Regions from separate parts of the Homo sapiens genome. Here all the other regions are linked to region 2. Evidence: promoter capture Hi-C in 16 types of primary human blood cells and fetal thymus (Javierre and others, 2016). All regions are on one chromosome and are shown on one strand. The core of a region is centred on a gene start or on the middle of the fragment in contact, and the rest is flanking DNA. Distances in the headings are between cores, read along the strand shown. Region 1 overlaps MCTP1 (multiple C2 and transmembrane domain containing 1). Region 2 holds the start of MCTP1-AS1 (MCTP1 antisense RNA 1). Region 3 overlaps MCTP1 (multiple C2 and transmembrane domain containing 1). Region 4 overlaps MCTP1 (multiple C2 and transmembrane domain containing 1).

Region 1 (2,700 bases), core at 20-2,519, 240 kb after region 2:
CAAGAACTTCAAGGAATTTCTAGTCCTCCAAATGAGTTACACTATATTGGGACAGCAATGAGATAAGAGCTGGGATGAAAAGAATTTGACAGAGCAAGAGTAGATGCATGATACAATAGGTTACAAGGAAGAAAAGATCCGTGTTCAATGGTTAAGTCAATGGGGGCAGGAATTTGGTTTTTGTTGTTCAACACTACATACCCAGTTTCAGGCCCATAACAAGAGAAATGAATGAATGGGAGAGTGAGTGAGGCTATTTGATCCTTTCTCTTTGTTTCTTTAATCTAGTATTTCCCAATGTATGGAATGCTTCAACTAGTAATCTGGGACATCATTTTAGGTGGTAATGGTACATTAAACACTCTAAATCAGGTAGAGACAAAGTGTTTCCCCTTTTAATTTCCTAGTATCAAGGAGAAAAATTTCAGTTTGGTACTAGTAGGCCTTTAACATCTTTCTATTCTTGTTTAAACAGGAGACATGTTCTCAGGGACTGAGCTCCAGGTAACTTTATTTAGTTAAAACTATATACAGTCATTTGTCACTTAACAATAAGGATACATTCTGAGAAATGCATTGTGGGTGATTTTGTTGTTTTATGAACATCATGGAATGTACTTACACAAATTGAGATGGAATAGCCTACTATACGCCTAGGCTGGATGGTATAGCCTGTTGCTCTGAGGCTACCAACCTACACAGTAAGTTACCGTACTGAATACTATAGGCAAATTTAACACAATGGTAACCATTTGTGTATCTAAACATATCTAAACATAGAAAAGGTTCTGTAAAATATAGTATTATAATCTTCTGGAACCACTATTGTATATGCATTTCATCACTGACCAGAATGTCATTATGCAATGCATGACTGTACTTCATCTGGTTTTTCATCCTATTCATTTTTATAGTTACCATCTATTTTGGGAAAAAATGATTTTTCTAATTTGGGCTAGTAATGTAAAAATTTCCTTTTAAAGGCCAGGCGCAGTGGCTCACGCCTGTAATCCCAGCACTTTAGGAGGCCAAGGCGGGTGGATCATGCGGTCAGGAGATCGAGACCATCCTGGCTAATACGGTGAAACCCCGTCTCTACTAAAAAATACAAAAAATTAGCCGGGCATGGTGGTGGGCACCTGTAGTCCCAGCTACTCAGGAGGCTGAGGCAGGAGAATGGCGTGAACCTGGGAGGCGGAGCTTGCAGTGAGCCAAGATCGCGTCACTGCACTCCAGCCTGGGCGACAGAGTGAGACTCCATCTCAAAAAAAAAAAAAAAAAATCCTTTTAAAATAATTTATTTAAAACACAAAATTTAGTTGACTTAAAAGAAAAACATTAGGTAAATAATAAAGTCATGTGTATCTATGAGGCTAATCAGATGATGATACTCAAATGAATTAAATTTGGCAAGCTGCATTCTAATCGCCCTGGACTCCCTACGGTCTTTAGGTCTCCACTGCTACGACAACAATAAAGATCTAAAGCAGCTGTTCAGCTTTGGGTGGACCACACAGAGCCATCCCCAGGAGACACAGCAACCTGAGACAACAGTCAGTCAAACAAATGTAAACATAATCTTCAGTGTCCTGGTGAGCAACTTAAATGCAAATGCAAAAACTCCATTTCCCAAAATCTGCCATCAATTTTATATTCTTATAGAGAAAGATGCCTGTAACTGTCCCTTCATTTGACTCCCCACTATTAAGCTCATTTAGAAATAAATACTAAGCTACTAAGGTAATGAATTCATGGTAAGAAGAAAGAGAAATGATAAATTTAAAAGCCAAAAATCAATGAGAAGTTCTGTTAGGTCCTACAAATTCTTTTGGATGATCATAATTTTAATTCTGTTACAGGCAAATGGTAGCTCTCACACTAAATTCAGCAACAGCTTGCAATATGTAAATTAGGAGCCCAAAGTTCTTGAACTAACTTGCAAAGGTAGTATTAGTTGCTAATAGATGACATTTAATTTCTGACTTTCAGAACTCAAGATTAAAATAAGGGCTAAATTAGAGCTGAGGTTCCTTAAGCGGCTGCTAATAGCCTATGTCATTGAAGAGTTACTAAAAATACTGATTAAGTACATGAGAGATTTTTTTGTGTGTGTTTAACCAAGCACAACTTGATTTTCATAGTACAATATTTAAAAATAAAATAACAAAATAAAATCTGTACATTAAGTCATCAACCTGGATCCTCATTTTCTTCTTCCTTTTTTTTTTTTTTACAAAGAATTCCTTAGTCCGCTGGCCTCTACAAGCATGTACAAACACTGACGGAATCATAATCTAAAAGGAAGAGAGACACTATCAGAATTTTTTTCATTCTTAATAATTCATTTTACCTGAATCTTTTGTTTCTCCTTCTTCCTCTAATTTTGTTGGCTTTTAGCCAATTCACAATAATTAAGACTTTGATGTTGAGGCCAAGAGGGAACTGGCAAAAAGTAAAACTCATTCATCAATGTAACTCAGTAATTCTCACCTCTCATATTATGACATAGCCACCAGAAGCTACTGCAACAACTTCCTTAATAGCTCAGAACAACAAGAATACCTAATAACATACATGCTTCAAATCCAGAGTCATGGCAATATTTTTTTCTATTTTAAATAAGTCATGCTAATGTTGAAATGCTAACTGTGAAATTCTTTACCTCACATGGGTGCCATTGTTTAATACAGTAACTCCTAC
Region 2 (2,700 bases), core at 171-2,670:
TTGTACACTGAAAACTATAAAATGTTAATGAAAGAAATTAAAGAAGACACTAATAAATGAAAAGTCATCTTGTGTTCATGAATTGAAAAATGGAATATTGTTAAAATGTACATACTACCCAAAGCAATCTATAGATTCAATGAAATCTCTATCAAATTCCAATGATATTTTTTACAGAAATAGAAAAAAAAAACCCTAAAATTCATATGGAACCACAGATGACCCCGAATAGTCAAAAAAAATCTTGAGAAAGAAAAACAAAGCTGGAGGCATCATACTTCCTGATTCAAAATATATTACAAAGCTACAGTAATTAAAACAGCATGGTACTGTGAAAAAGACAGACATATAGTCCAAGGAACAGAATGAAAATCAATCCATGCCTGTATGGTAAACTGACCTTCAACAAGGGTGCCAGGAATACAAAATAGGGAAAGGATAGTCTTCAACGAATAGCTTTTGAAAACTGTATATTCACATGCAGAATAATGAAACTGGACTCTTATCTTACCCCATATACATAAATCAATACAAATGGATTAAAAACTTAAATATAAGTCATGAAACTATAAAACAGGGAAAAACCTTCATGACATTAGTTTTGTCAATGATTGCGTGAGTATGACACCAAAAGCACAGGAAACAAAAGTAAAACCAGGCAAATGGGACTAGAGGAAATATCTGCAAATCATATATCAGATAAGGGGTTAGTTTCCAATATATAAGGAATTTCTACAACACAATAGCAAAAAAACCTAATAATCTGATTTTAAAACTGGGCTAAGTCTGGAATAGACATTTCTCCAAAGAAGACATACAAATGGCCAACAGGTATATGAAAAGATGCTGTTACCAAACATCAGGGGAATGAAAATCAAAAATACAATGAGACATCACCTGACACCTGGTAGGAAAACTATCAACACGTGTTGGTGAGGATGTGAAGAAATCTGAACCCTTGTACACTGTTGGTGGGAATGCAAAATGGTGCAGTTACTGTGGAAAACAATATGGAGATTTCTAAAAAAAAATAAAAATAGAGCTACCATATGATTTAGCAATCTGACTTTTTAGTATTTATCTAAAAGAACTGAAATCAGGATCTTAAAGAGAAATAAGCACTCCCATATTCATTGCAACACTATTTACAATAACCAAGACATAGAAGCAACCTAAATGTTCATCAATGAATGCATGCATAAAAAGAAGATGTGGTATATATATATAATGGAATATTATTCAGACTGAAAAAAGAAGGAAATCCTGCAATATGTGACAACATGGATGAAACTTGAAGACATTATGCTATATACCAGCCACAGAAGGACAAATACTGCATGATTTCACTTACATCAGATATCTAAAATAGTCAAACTCATTGAATCAGAAAGTAGAATGGTGGATGCCAAGGGCTGGTAGTAGGGGTGGGGAATGGGGTGTTTCCAGTCAATGGGCATAAAGTCTCAATTACACAAGATGAATACGTTTTTGAGATCTGCTGTACAACATTGCTCCTATATTAATATTGTACTATATGCCTAAAAATGTGTTAAGAGTGTAGATCTCATGTTAAGTGTTCTTACCACAATAAAATAAATTTTTTTAAAAAACCAAGATCATTGGGTGTGATCATTGGCACACAGAAGCCTACTGCCTACTGAGTTTTTGAGAGAAAGAACTTAGCTGTTTGAGATCCCTGACATTACCCTAGTAGGAAGCAGGATATGAAAGATGTACAATCCCCAAGGAGAGCAAGCTCCTTCACACCCATTTCAGACATGGCCATAGAGGACAATGAATAAGAAATAGATCCCCAAATTAAGGGGCCAGTTGCCACGGAGAACAACAAACAAGAGGATTCTTCCCAGACAGAAAAGTTCTAATCAAACAATTTTCCTACTCTCCAGGTTAAGAGGCCTTCATCTGGCCTCTTTATGGACATGGGGATTTCAGAATTTATACTGACAAGTAACTTGTGCCCCCCATGATTTCTACCATTGTATGTTGGATGTGTATAGGGAGACTGTAGGCAGATTCTTAGTTCCGAGGGCTACAAGGAACCACATTCAGACCTGACAGAGAATATCCTTTTATTCAGAGATCCTGAACTTAGAGCTGTATACGGTGATCAGATGGGACTTTGACTGTTTCTCTTGGAGAAGAGTGAATGTCTTCTATATGCAGGAAGAGTGAAACATATTTGGTGACCAGAGGTAGAGTATAGCCAAGAATGCTACTGCTTGGCAATATGAGCTATAGCTTCCGGCCTCCTTTAAAATTAGGAGTGGTCAATTGGCTGCATTCTGGTCAACTGAATATAAATGCAAAAGGTAATGTGTGCCAATTTTAAGCCTGGCCTATAAAAATCTTCCCATGTGGGATTCTTACTCTACTCTGTCAACCACAGGCTTTGAGGACCAAAAGGGAGATAGTAACACTAGATAGAAAAAAAACACTAGGGGCCCGTGATGACTGTGTGGAGCAGAACTAGAGCCCCACCCTCCAACACGGACACATATTAAACCATAATAAGAGCAAGAAAAACAGCTTTTCTTAGGTTAAATCATTGATATATCGGGTTTATCTGTTTAGTTATATATCTTAACAAATACAAAATTTAAACCACAACAAATCATGATTATATTGTTTGGTGCTAATAATAAGGAAAATGTAAGATTTAAGGCCCTTAAAGAAAGGACT
Region 3 (2,700 bases), core at 20-2,519, 220 kb after region 2:
TGCTGGGTGTGGTGGCTCACATCTGTGATCCCAGCATTTTGGGGGTTTGAGGCGGGTGGATCACTTGAGGTCAGGGGGTCAAGACCAGCCTGGCCAACATGGTGAAATCCCGTCTCTATTAAAAATACTAAAAATTAGCCGGGTGTGGTGGTGCACGCCTGTAATCCCAGCTACTCAGGAGGCTGGGGCAAGAGAATTGCATGAACTCAGGAGGTGGAGGTTGCAGTGAGCTGAGATGGTGCCACTGCACTCCAGTCTGGGCAACAGAGCAAGAGACTCCGTCTCAAAAGAAAAAAAAAAAAAGGCCAGGCACAGTGGCTCATGCCTGTAACCCCAGCACTCTGGGAGGCCGAGGCAGGCGGATCACCTGAGGTTGGGATTTCAAGATCAGCCTGGCCAACATGGTGAAACCTCGTCTCTACTAAAAATACAAAAATTATCCAAGGGTGGTGGCACGTGCCTGCAATCGCAGCTACTTGGGAGGCTGAGGCAGGAGAATCACTTGAACCCGGGAGGCGGAAGTTGCGGTGAGCCGAGATCGTGCCACTGCACTCCAGCCTGGGCAACAGAGTGAGACACTATCTCAAAAAAAAAAAAAGAAAAAGAGAAAAAGACAAAAGATAAATATTGACAAGGATGTGAAGAAAAGGGAACACTTGTGCACTATTGGCAGGAATGCAAATTAGTGCAGCCATTATGAAAACCAGTATGGAAATTCCTCAAAAAATTAAAAATAGAACTGCCATATGATCCAGCAATCCCAATACTGGGTATATATTCAAAGGGAATAAAATCAGTGTATGACAGAGATATCTACACTCTCATGTTCTTTGCAACATTTTTCAAAATACCCAAGACATGAAATCAAGCTAAGTGTCCTTCAACAGGTAAATGGATAAAGAAAATGTGGCACATATACACAATGGAATACTATTCAGCTTTAAAAATGAAGGACACTTGTGTTATTTGCAACAACATAGATGAAGCTGGGGAATATTGTATTAAGTGAAATAAGTCAGACACAGAAAGACAAATACCACATGATCTCACTTGTATGTGGAATCTTAAAAAGTTGAACTCATGGATTAGGGAGATGTTGGTCAAAGGATATAAAATTTCAGTTAGATAAAAGTAATAAGTTTAAGGGATCTATTATACAACATGGTGGCTACAGTTAATAACAATGTATTGTGTTTTGAAAATTGCTAAGATAGATTTTAAGTGTTCTCACCACAAAAACTGATGCGTATGTGAGGTAATGCATATGTTAATTAGCTCAATTTAGCCATTCCACAACTTATACATATTTCAAAACATCATGTTGTACATGATAAACATATAAAATGATTGTCAGAGATAAACAAAACAACATCCTCTAAAATTTTATCTATGAAAAGTTTGTCAGCATAACATAATGTAAATGTAAGCATGTAGAAGAATTAAGAGTAGAGTTCATTGAAAATGTGGATGCTATAACTTTATTCCAAGCCTACTGAATTGGAATCTCCTGCACTGGGACTGAGGAAATTGTATTTTAACACACTCCATTGGTGAATCTTTTGCACACCAAACTTTAGGACTGCTGAGACAGAATGCTGCACTCTTCTTTGAACTTGTACACCTTTGCTAGTCAAAGTGTGGTTCTAGGACAAGCAACATCCACATATCATAGGAGCTTGTTAGAAATGCAGTCTCAGATAACACTCAACACTGACTGAATCAGAATATGTATTTTAACAAGAGCCTTCATTGATTCATAGGCACATTAAAGTTTGAAAAGCAGTATGATAATACAATATACTACCTTTTTGTTATGATTTAAATTTAAAAATTATAGGGATGAGTGTATTTTTTAAGTACAAAAGGGATAAAATGTAAAGGAAAAGTGGTTTTTTTTTTTTTTTTTTTTTTTTTTTTTTTTTTTTTTTTTTTTTTTTTTTTTTTTTTGAGACAGAGTCTCGCTTTGTTGCCCAGGCTGGAGCACATTGGTGCTATCTTGGCTCACTGCAGCCTCTGCCTCCCAGGTTCAGGCAATTCTCCTGCCTTAGCGTCCTGAGTAGCTGGGATTATAGGTGCCCGCCATCATGCCTGGCTAGTTTTTGTATTTTTAGGAGAGACAGGGTTTCACCATGTTGGCCAGGCTGGTCTCAAACTCCTGACCTCAAGGGATCCATCCGCCTCGGCCTCCCAAAGTGCTGGGATTACAGGCGTGAGCCACTGCACCTGGCCAAAAAAGTTTTTTCTCCACCACCTATCCCAGTTTCACTCTTCAGAAACCATAAATAGGAAGTTTCTTCTTATTTATTTTTCTTTAATTTCCTTGAAAAAGGTATTGCTACTCTGTGTTCTAACATCTGGTATGGGGATGAGAAATTTGATTCACATTTCAAACATTTCTGTGATAATTAATTTCAGATGTCTACTTGACTGGATTTAACAATAGCAGGAGAACTGGTGAAGCATTGTTTCTAGGTTTGTCTGTGAAGGTGGTTCTAGAGGAGACTGGTAAGTGGGTCAGTGGCGTGAGTGGGGAAGACCACTCTTGATGTGGGTAGAACCCTGCAGCTGGCTCGGGGCTCAGGTAGAACAAAAAAGGCAGAAAAGAGGCCATTTCTTCTCTCTCCTAGAGCTGGAACACTGGAACACTCTTCTTCCCTTTTCGTGGACATCAGAACTCCAGGCTGTCTGACCTTTGAACTG
Region 4 (2,700 bases), core at 5-2,504, 180 kb after region 2:
TAATTTACTCTGTGGCCCTAATACTTTTTTGAAGTAGTTATGTGAAAATTATAAATAGGTAAAATCAAATATATATGTAAATTAGTGAAAATTAACTCATTTGGGTTAAAATAGTCTTCAGAAAGACTATGAAAATCCAAATATATTATAAAGTAGTAGTTAGGTCTTAAAATATATCAACCAATTGTCCAGCAAAAGGTTTCTTTGGGAATGGGACATGGAATAGCCAATCTTTGATAGAAGAGGGTACTGCTATAGAAGGTCCTGAAAAGCTAAGAGACAGGATAAAGGGCCTGGAACCCAGGGCACCCTAAAGATAAACCAAATATTTTATGAATTCACTTGCACTGACCCTAGATACAGATAAGATATTGAAAGCTAGTTTTCTAATTTATATTATTCTATCAAATGAATTCAGCTGCCCTGTAGACCCATATAGAAAACTAGGAAACAGAAAACTTTAGCAACTTGTCCATGGTCAGTGGTATAAATAAGGCTAAAGACGAAGGCAAGAGATTTATATTTAATCTTTTTCTCAAATCAAGGGATAAACAACTAAATATACCATTAAAAATACTGGGAAAAAATTTTAAGATTTCTCATTATGGAAAAGTAATGTACAAACAAAGTCACCATGCAATCATGGCCTAAAAGAGCTTCTCAATTTTGAAATTAATATATGATTACATGGAGCAGGGATCAGCAAACTGTGGCTCACGGGCCAAGTCAGCCAGATGCCTGTTTTTATAAATAATGTTTTATTGAAACACAGTCACTCCCTTTCCTTCATTTATTGTTTATGGCTGTTTTCCCATTACGCCGGCAATGTTGAGTTGTCATGACAGAAACAGCATGGCCCGCAAAGCCTAAAATATTTACTGGTTCTTTACAGAAAATATCTGCCAACCCCTGTTGTAGTTCATTAAAAATCAGTGTTTAGTGCAAGTCTACATCTACTATACCTATAATACCTAGAACAAATCATACATGATCTCACTAAAGAAAGCCCTTGGTTAATTAAGTAAATAAATAGAATTGATATTAAGTAGACACAACGAAAATGTTACATATTGAGCCTGGCAGTCAATTCCACAAACACAGACCTGCACAATATGGACTGTGACAATATCTTGCTTTTTTTGTAAACATTCTTAAAATGGTAAACACATTCCACTGGCATTTTTCATCATCACATATCATTCATTTATTGTAAATCTCAAGATTTTAGTCACAAAACATTTTTTGATGGATTTCACTTTCTATAGGCCTTTGTGCATTGCAGCTTTGCAAAAATTATACAATCCTCTGGGTACAAATTAACTTGAGAGCCTGGCTGAGATGGAAAATATGATAAAAATGGAAATACAAAAGGCTGTGATGGCTTTTTAAATTACAGGATATGTATAGCAATAAATAGTAAATCTGGTACTTTTTAAGAAGGATGCCATTGTTAAGAAGCCAGATTTTAAAAATAACAACAAGGAATATCAAGCCTATTCCCAACATTTTCCAAAAGGAATTTAACTCACTTAAATAGCATCTGTAATTTTAGATAAATAGTTAAACTCAAAAGCAAATTTAGGGACATGTGCAATGGCTCATGCCTGTAATCCCAGCACTTTGGGAGGCCAAGGCAGGAGGATCACTTGACCTCACAAGTTCATGACCAGCCTGGGCAGCATGGTGAAACTCTGTCTCTACAAAAAATACCAAAAAAAAAAAAAAAAATTAGCCAGGCATGGTGGTGCATGCCTATGGTCCCAGCTACTCAGGAGGCTTGAGCCGGGAGGCAGAGGTTGCAGTGAGCTGAGATCACACCACTGCACTCCAGCCTGGGTGATAGATCCAGACCTTGTCTCAAAATAATAAAAAGCAAATTTATTTAATATAATTTCTTAATTTTTTTATGGTGCAGAATTTTTTAGTTTCTGTTGAGTATGTATCCATAACTTTGAGAAAATTATTTTTTGAAAAACTATTTGATGTTGACTTTAGGCAATCATACCAGACTACAACCATGTAGAATTAAAATGACATCACGTCTAAAAAATAATTAAAGTCAAAGTACCTGATTTTTGTAAAGGGTTGTCAACTCTATCTATAAGACTGTGTCTACTAACTTAGTATAAAAATTCCAAACCACAATATCATGTCTCCAGATATGCCTTTGAAGACATCAATGATTGACTTCAAATCCTAATTACCCAAAACTCAGAAAACATATATGGAATTTGCAATATTTGAGAGATTCAAGAGGCTATGCTAATAGTTGCTTTCTCTCAATTCCCTAAGCTCTTTTCATTCATTTATTCTTACATCCAAACATTACACACTTTCTGATAACTACTGTGTGCCAAGTATATCAGTTATACTATCACTATGTATACAGCTCACCAGCAAAAGAATGTCATATTCTATTTTCAAAAATCATTTGTGAAGTGCCCATAATGCATGTACTATATACTATGTTAAGTTCTAAGGATAAAGAGATTACTAAGACACAACAATGGTTCTAAAATGTGAGTATGTACCAGATATATCTTAGGATTTTATAACTATATAGAAGCTTAGCACCATCCATACCCAGTGTATCAGAATTTCTGAAGCACAACTTTGATTTTTTTTTCAAGTTCCACTTGTGAGTCTGAAGCACATTGAAGCTTGAGAGTCATTTCTCTGGAAGATGTTCCATACAGTGTA

Evidence for each region. Contacts are between HindIII fragments. The CHiCAGO score rates a contact against its expected background, and 5 or more counts as called.
Region 1: a fragment that was not itself captured here is called in contact with the fragment with the promoter of MCTP1-AS1 in region 2 in 4 of 17 cell types (megakaryocytes, monocytes, M2 macrophages and 1 more); the score reaches 6.4 in megakaryocytes.
Region 3: a contact is called between a fragment that was not itself captured here and the fragment with the promoter of MCTP1-AS1 in region 2, in 5 of 17 cell types (megakaryocytes, M2 macrophages, monocytes and 2 more). The highest score is 6.1, in megakaryocytes.
Region 4: a contact is called between a fragment that was not itself captured here and the fragment with the promoter of MCTP1-AS1 in region 2, in 2 of 17 cell types (megakaryocytes and monocytes). The highest score is 5.8, in megakaryocytes.

Annotation. Positions count from the first base shown.
Region 1 is chr5:95,218,118-95,220,817 of GRCh38, forward strand. All of the region lies in intron 1 of MCTP1 (multiple C2 and transmembrane domain containing 1), which reads right to left. All of the region lies in intron 4 of LOC105379085 (a long non-coding RNA gene), which reads left to right. Among named protein-coding and RNA genes, the nearest start is that of MCTP1, 66 kb to the right of the region's middle. The HindIII fragment of the contact is 6,099 bases long and covers 1-2,700 here.
Region 2 is chr5:94,977,278-94,979,977 of GRCh38, forward strand. MCTP1-AS1 (MCTP1 antisense RNA 1) reads left to right here and starts at 1,421. Exons shown (of 2, transcript NR_189169.1): 1 at 1,421-2,330. The region is part of intron 2 of MCTP1 (multiple C2 and transmembrane domain containing 1); the gene reads right to left. The HindIII fragment of the contact is 7,189 bases long and covers 1-2,700 here.
Region 3 is chr5:95,199,576-95,202,275 of GRCh38, forward strand. All of the region lies in intron 1 of MCTP1 (multiple C2 and transmembrane domain containing 1), which reads right to left. All of the region lies in intron 4 of LOC105379085 (a long non-coding RNA gene), which reads left to right. Among named protein-coding and RNA genes, the nearest start is that of MCTP1, 84 kb to the right of the region's middle. The HindIII fragment of the contact is 3,469 bases long and covers 1-2,700 here.
Region 4 is chr5:95,157,062-95,159,761 of GRCh38, forward strand. All of the region lies in intron 1 of MCTP1 (multiple C2 and transmembrane domain containing 1), which reads right to left. All of the region lies in intron 2 of LOC105379085 (a long non-coding RNA gene), which reads left to right. Among named protein-coding and RNA genes, the nearest start is that of MCTP1, 130 kb to the right of the region's middle. The HindIII fragment of the contact is 2,620 bases long and covers 1-2,564 here.